Linked DNA regions of Homo sapiens: region 2 is linked to region 1. Evidence: promoter capture Hi-C in human tissues and cell types (Jung and others, 2019). All regions are on one chromosome and are shown on one strand. Each heading gives the region's core, a stretch centred on a gene start or on the middle of the fragment in contact. The rest is flanking DNA. Distances are from core to core; before and after follow the strand shown.

Region 1 (3,991 bases), core at 934-3,433:
TCCAATACTTTTCAAAAAGGAAACAAGCTACTTTTTGCACTGCACATACATAAGTCTTTATATACTCTTTGTATGGTTAATGTCTACTTAGCACGCAGGTCTCAGCATAAGGCTTTCGCTGAAAACTCACAGCCAACCTCCCTGCCACCCACCTCCAACTAAATTAGACTTCGTTATTCCTTCTCGTAACATCACAGTCTTTTCCTTCATAGTGCTTATCACAATTTGTAATTATGTATTTGTTTATGTTAATTAACTAATTAATTTATTATTATTTATTCCTCTGTTCCACTAGGCAAGAACTGTGTCTATTCTGTTCACCATATCTTCAGAGCCTAACACAGGTCCGACATATCTTATACTCAATAAATAATTTTTGAAAGAATGAGTAAATTAAGACCAAAGCCAATATAAGATTAGTGAGTCTTCACAAAATAAAAATCATAGCTACATATGCTTTTAATCCCCTTCACATTCTACTCCTCTTCTAGAAACTCTGTGTGATATGTGGTAATATCTTGCCTTTTTAGAACCAGAACTAGTACAAGACAGCTTTTTAATGAAAATCTGGACTTGATGTAACAAAGAACAGAAAAGGTTTCTTGGAGTGACAGCGAAACTTGGAGAGTGAGTCTCTGGCATATAAAGCAATAAAAGGAGAGTGTACCTGAAGCGGTGAAAAACAAACACCTTCTACAGACACTCATTCCTTCACTAGCAGTCTGAGTGCTTAGTTTGGTTTTCTTAAAGCCTGGAGTAGAGGAATGTAACAGTCTATGTGAGAATTTATAGGCCTTCCCAGATCTTTCCCTTCCCTCTCATGATAATTTTCTCTAAAAAAAAAAAGGTAACCATTATTGTTTTAAAATTGGTACAAGTAATACAAGATAAGTAGATATGCCAATGTAGTTGTCCATGTAGCTGTCATACCTTTTAGAAGCATCTTCTTGTTTCAAAGTACTTGTCTGTTTAGTACCTACAATAAAAATACAGTCATGTGCTACATAATGACATTTCCGTAAACGACGGACAGCATACAGACAGCGGTCTCATAAGATTAAAATACTGTATTTTTACTGTACCTTTTCTATGTTTAGATATACAGTTGCCTACAGTACTTAGTACAGTAACATGCTGTGCAGGTTTGTAGCCTGGGAGCAATAGGCTGTACCATATAGCCTAGTGTGTAAGTAGGCTGTACCATCTAGGTTTGTGTAAGTGCACTCGATGATGGTCACACAAGGATGAAATCGACTAACAACTTATTTCTCAAAATGCATCCCCGCAGTTAAGCTACACATGGTGGCAGTAGGTCAGGTCTACACAAACACATTAGGTACAAGATAGATTCCTACACAAATAACAAACTGTAGACCACCTTTTCTTCTTTTCCACATATTTTATGTCCAATCGTGTGTAAATCAAAATGAAATAGGAAGGGAGAGCAATTTGTTTTTGCAAATTGATTACTGTCTAATTTTTCTTGGTTAAAATGTATCTCTTTGGGGATTGAATTTTCTTCTGTATCATAGTTGCTTAATTAACCACTCCTGAAAATCTGAGATCTGGGTACTTTTAGGGGAAACCTCTCTCCGTCTGCCAAACGTCCTCTCTGGGGGAAGAGGGGAGTCCGGCACCTTAAAGAACTGGGCACCCAAGCAATCTGGAAAGGAGGACCGGTCCTAGGTTCAAGGCCAGCTGCCAACGCTGCCCTAGTCACTTGCCCCGAAACCCGGGGACCCCAGGCCTGGGTTCCCGGGGCCTCCACTGTCCTTTGTCTCAGAGGCTGGGGCCACAGTCCGCGTGAGGGAAATCTTGGAACACTGGCGTAAAGGGGTGAGGGGCGGCCAGGAAATCTTTCCCAGGAGGTGCGGACGGCGGTGGGAAGCTTTCGGCCTACTCTACCTGGGAGAACCCCTCCCCTGAAGCAGCCTTTCAGGAGCGCCCGCGCGCTGCGGTCTATAACTCGAGATCGGGGCCCAGCTTTCAGGGTCCAAAAGTGGGAAGAGATCCTTGCTCCTACCTGCGGCTTTTCGAGAGCAGCGGGGAGCCCCGGCCTTGCGGCCGGCAGAAGACGGCCCAGCGAAGTCCGCCATGGGGGAGAGTAGTCTGCCGGACGGGGACACGCTCCGGCGTCTCGCCCCGAGGCCCCGCCTCCCTACGCGTAGCGCGGGGCGGGGCCAGAAGAGCGGGCTAAGACGCCGGAGGAGGTGGCGGCGGCTGGGAGAGGCGAGGGTTCTGGCCGGTAAGTGGAGTTGTGGAGAGGTTCAGGGTGGCCAGGGCTCGCGGTTGGCCGTGAGCCGCGGCGGACTTGGTGCTGCGGGCCGACTAGGCCACGCGAGGTGGTGGAGCCTGCCCACCTAGGCGAGCAGGAATCGGAAGACATGGCTTCCTCTGATGCAGCCCGCACGCGCGCTGGGGTGTTCACTCGCCTTCCAGCGCGCTGCCCTGAGGACCGGGCTGACTCGCGCCCCTACTGAGGGCTTGGGGCCGAGCCTTGCCGCCAGGAGAAGCGATGGTCTCCTCCTGAAGGCCGCCGTTGTCTTGTCTCCGTGTGATACAGTGATTTCACTAGCTGGATTGATCACTTTGGGGACTGCAACTCCTAGAGAGAAATGGAATGGAGGGCATCTGAATCTTCACCCCCTATAGATAAGCTTGTGTTGCACCCCAATTTTTGTGAGGTGAGACATTAAAAATGAAAAATCCCCTGATGATTAGAATTTTGATTTCAGGTCCACCTTTTGGAAATTTTTTTTCAGAAAAGAAGTGCTTTGCTTTTTAAAAGCCCTTTAGTTCGTATATGCCTCGCCTCTTGGGAGTGCTCGAGAGGTTTTTTTTGTTTTTTTTTCCTTCAAAGTAGCTTTCAAAACTATGCTCCTAGAAAACTTAAAACATGCAATAAGGGCTTCTAAAAAAACACTTTATTTTCTTAGGCAAACATACTAAGATTCAGTAATAACATTTCAACTTTAAAACTTTACATTTTCTCCTAGCATGCTATTGGACCAAAAAACACAACAACAAAAACTTTCCATTTTCTTTATTGTATTTACTAATAATTTATCACACTGAAACATAACTTTTGAATACTTAAGTGTAATATCACGGATAGTTAACAGTGTGTTTTGTATTTGTAGATTTTAGCATCGAAACTAGGAGAAATAAGAATGGCTGTAGAGGAACTTCAGTCTATAATAAAGAGATGTGTAAGTATTAATTTTTGTAAAATTAAATACCTTTCAAAATATGGGAAGGGCACAGATTGTTTTTAATTATATTTGTGGTCACTCAAATTGTTTATCTTCTTTAATCCTTGCTTTTTTTGACCTGTAAAGAGCATGAGTGGGGGAGGCAGATTGGATTATTTCTCCAGGTGACATACTTATCTAAATAACCTTTTACATTTTAATCCTGATCCTTTTCATAGATTTCACTGGTACAGTAGATTTCAAGGTCACTTATTAAAGTATTTATTAGGGTAATCCTAATTTTGATACGTGTGTTATTTACGTTACATTTATCTAGAATTTAAACAGATTTCCTTTTTTCATAGATAAATCAAGAAGTTATTGTATTTAATTTTTATTTGCATATACTTTTTTTTGTTTGTTTTTTGGGTTTTTTTTTTTTTTGCCAGCAAATCCTAGAAGAGCAAGACTTTAAAGAAGAGGATTTTGGCCTATTTCAGTTAGCTGGGCAAAGATGCATAGAAGAAGGGCACACAGACCAGCTATTAGAAATTATTCAAAATGAAAAGAATAAGGTGCGTACAATCTTGGTGTTTACTTTTCAGTCTTGGGAAGAGAATAATCACATGATGCTATTCATCCAGTCATTTATCCATCAAACATTTAAGAATCTACTTAAATTTTCACAGTAGGGAACTGAAAACAAAAAAAGAATTAGAAATATTTAGGCCAGGCGCAGTGGCTCACGTTCGTAATCACAGCGTTATGGGAGGCCAAGGCAGGCAGATCACTTGAGCCCA
Region 2 (3,793 bases), core at 219-2,718, 780 kb before region 1:
AGAATGAAACCATGGAAATTGAAACCAGCTTGTAGGCTAGGTATACAGGAGGGTCACATGGAATCCATCTGAAGGAGAAAGTAACTACTATTACTACCGGAGGTTCTGAAGTCAAATTAAATCAGGTACTATTTACATATTTCTAGCTCTGTACTGACCTCACATGGTGCCTTCCTATGTATTACACACAGGCCTAGCTAGGTTTTCACATTTAAGTTAGTGTTACATGGTTTCTATCTTTAACCAAAGTTAAATGTTTTAAAGAATAGAGTAACATTCCATAAGCCTTTTCCCATTGTTCACAAACCCTTGCTGTTAGTCAGATTACCCCGATAAATCCATCTGTTCCCTCTAATTGCTTCCAAAGAAAAATTCTAGCAACCAAGGACACCAGATTGTAAAACACAGAGTTAGAGTTCTGGCACTACCGAAATATGTTAAGAAATCTTGGCAAATTGGTTAAAATTCCTTGAGCCGTAATTACCTCAGTTGTAAAAATGAATACAATACAAATCTACATCCTAGACGTAGATTATATGAGTTAGGTTTAATTAAACACAAGAAAAGCCTCATATTTTTGGTGAGCTCCAAATATAAGCTACCTAGCTTTCCCCCATCTCACTTTCCCTCCCACCGCTTCCCTTTAAGCTTTCAGGTTGTGCTTCCAACCTCCACTTCAGTGTGTTCCCCTTATCCTTACCAGCACTTACACTCGACCCCCTTTACTCCAATTCCATACAATTCCACCCTCCGATTCCAAGCTGCTACTTCCCTTTGCGCACTGCTAAGGTCCCAGGCAGCCCTCCACTCTGCTCCCCACATTTCCCTCAGCCCCCATTTCCCAACGGCTCCTCCTCTCGGCTCCCCACCCCCTCGTCACCAGGTTCATCCTGCCCCTCCAACCGTCTCCCGCCCCCAGGTTCCTTCCTGCCCTCCAAACACAGCTTCCCCGTCTCAACGTTTCATCTTGTTCCTCCAACAGACTCCCCCAACGACCTCCTCGCTCCTTTAGTCCCTATTTTCTCCCAACACTCAACTGACTACTCCTCTTCATCCATTCTTTTCAATATACACATAAATGCAAAGGCACCCACATACAGGAGCCCCCACCCCCACCTTGGTCCTCCATCTTTCCCTTTTATACTTGCTTCCTTTCTTCCTCCTTCCCCCAACCCCCATCTCCTCCGGAAGAGTCGGTTCCCAGGCCAAGGTCTCTCACCTCATTCGGTCACTTCAGTGGTGCCAACCGCTTCATACAGGAAAAAACAACCAATCCGTCCCCGTGGGCGCTTCCCCTGCGAGTCCGAGCACTTACTGGGCACCCGCCCCACCGGGTACCCGGCACATATGCACGCACAAACCGAGGTCCTTGGAGACAAGGGTTGGGGGTAGAATGAGCGTTCTTACACCGGCCTCAAACACAGCCCACTTCAATACAGCCCCTCGCCATTTTGGTTTCCCGCGGACTGCCGGTGCATTCTGGGAGCGCGGAGCGACTCCGGTGCCGAATGGCAGCTCTCCAAAGCCGCGGGGGGGCAGGGACTGCGCGGCGAGCGCGGAGGAACACCGCGCCCTGCGTCCCCGACTGGGGCTGAACAAAGAAGGACTCTTTAACGTTGCAGTGAGGCTCAGTCCTTCCGCCGCCGGGGCTAACACAATAGTGAAAGCTGCGCTCCTGATCGTCGGCAGGCTGGCACTGTTATACAGGAAAAGGGTCGTGTGCGACCTTCGGTGTGCGTGGTCGTAACGGTGCTCTGTGCATCTTGCTGGGCCGATTTCTTTTCCCTGGAGAAAACCTTAACTGAAGCACGTTTCCTCTACTTTCATCCTAAGGCCTGCTGTTAGAATTTCCTTCAGAGGGGAGAAGACCCAGGATGTCGAGATTAAATTTTATTCAGCGATTCACTGTCCAGTCCCAAACTCCTTATCAGGAGCTGCTTTTATGAAAGACTTTCAGACGATTTTTTTCCTAACGATGAAAGGTTGTTTTCTGTTTACCCGCTTTGCAGTCCTTCCTAGTTGTAATGAAATCTGAGAATAGTCCCCTGCAAAATGGTTTAAGAAAACAGAATTGTTTATTAGTGCAGACCCTTAGCCTGCCCAGATTCTGCTGCCTACAGGGGTCCCAACTGACAAGCTGTGAGATTGTATGCTTGTCTCTTTAACTTACACCTAGATACAACCCAGCTCCTCTTAGTAGCCACGTGTGGAATCTTTATTTATAATTTCGTCAAAATATTTTTAAAGCCATTTTATATTTTTGTCCCATATTATGCCACAGGGATAGTGAACACCATATTTTTTCTGTCTCTGAAAAAGTACCTTTTGTGGTCTAAGCTCATTTGGCTCATACTTCAAAAGGGGTTCCCTCAGCCTGTGATCTCAGAATTTGGCAAATAAGCATATTCGTTTTATCCAATACCATTCAATACTTTAAATATTGTGGTCATACCCTTCCACTCCTCTGCTTCTCCTGAATAATAGTCCTAATCTTTTAAGTCTGTCTTCTTACTGTACCCTCACTGTATCTACTTACCTACTACCTTTCAGGTTTCACTTTATTTCAATTCTCATCATCGTCTCTCATAAATTCGTCTTAAGTGACCTTCATACGTTGGCTGAGGAAAATTTTGACTTAAAAAAAGCAGATGCAGCCGGGCGCGGTGGCTCACACCTGTAATTCCAGCACTTTGGGAGGCCGAGACAGGCAGATCACCTGAGGTCGGGAATTCGAGACCAACCTGATCAACTTGGAGAAACCCCGTCTCTACTAAAAATACAAAAATTAGCCAGGTGTGGTGGCACATGCCTGTAATCCCAGCTACTCGGGAGGCTGAGACAGGAGAATCGCTTGAACCCAGGAGGCAGAGGTTGTGGTGAGCCAAGATCGTGCCATTGCACTCCAGCCTAGGCAACAAGAGCAAAAACTCCATCTCAAAAAAAAAAAAAAAAAAGTAGATGCATTCCCATTCAGGAACGTGGCATTAAGGTAAATAAATAAATAAAATATTAAAAAGTAGATGCAGTACAAAAATTAATAAAGATATTGCACAAACAGATATATTTGCTGTGCAGCTAAGCCTAATCAGAGAACATCTGTTTTGGAGAACGTTTGGTCTAAGTTTTCCTCAACATTTCTGTAAAGTGGTCACCAAGCCTCAACTTCAAAATCTTCAGTGATTCAATACTTCAGACGCATTCATTTCCACCTCAGAAACTCTAATAATTTAGGCTCTTTGGCTACACAAAAGTATTCTAATCCCTTATACATTAGAGAAGTAAATTATGCCTCTATCAAAAAAAAGTGTTATTTTTCTGTGCAAACGTGTGAGTACAAAGGTGTAAGCAAACCAAGTGTTCAGAGATTTAAGGACACTCAGGGAGTCACAGTCAAGTATAAAGAATACCTGTCAGCCAGCCACCAGCAACTCACTCCTGTAATCCCAGTACTTTGAAAGGCCAAGGTAGAAGGATCACTTGAGCTGGGGAGTTCCAGACCAGTATGCAGTCTGAGCCACATAGTGAGACCCTGTCTCTACAAAAAATTTAAAAATTAGCTGGGCCCCTGCCTGTAGTCCCAGCTATTCAGGAGGCTGAGGTGGTAGGCTTACTTGAGCCACAGTGAGACTGCCTCAAAAAAAAAAAAAAAAAAAAAAAAAACCTGCTGTAGTTGTGGTTCCTCGGAAATATAGAGTGAACTCTGATCAGAGTAAACTGTACCCTTTATTGTTGTATGTATTTCTGTGATCATCCTTAGGGTGGTTCATAAGTATTCTGGTTCCCCTCTCTTCCA

Evidence for each region. The method cuts DNA at HindIII sites, captures the fragments that hold promoters and counts their contacts. A contact is called where the count stands out against the background at its distance.
Region 2: the fragment with the promoter of MTF2 here is called in contact with the fragment with the promoter of GLMN in region 1 in 1 of the 25 tissues and cell types used here (adrenal gland).

What each region holds. Positions count from the first base shown.
Region 1 is chr1:92,297,179-92,301,169 of GRCh38, reverse strand. GLMN (glomulin, FKBP associated protein) reads left to right here and starts at 2,183. Exons shown (of 19, transcript NM_053274.3): 1 at 2,183-2,245; 2 at 3,141-3,209; 3 at 3,641-3,766. The coding sequence starts at 3,171. RPAP2 (RNA polymerase II associated protein 2) reads right to left here and starts at 2,111. Exons shown (of 13, transcript NM_024813.3): 1 at 2,024-2,111; 2 at 931-976. The coding sequence starts at 2,096. RefSeq lists enhancers at 1,698-1,927, 2,148-2,617, 2,189-3,085 and a silencer at 2,349-2,686. The HindIII fragment of the contact is 5,439 bases long and covers 810-3,991 here.
Region 2 is chr1:93,076,958-93,080,750 of GRCh38, reverse strand. It overlaps MTF2 (metal response element binding transcription factor 2), which reads right to left and starts at 1,468. Exons shown (of 15, transcript NM_007358.4): 1 at 1,220-1,468. The coding sequence starts at 1,224. RefSeq lists enhancers at 1,425-1,719, 1,656-1,905. The HindIII fragment of the contact is 11,533 bases long and covers 1-3,793 here.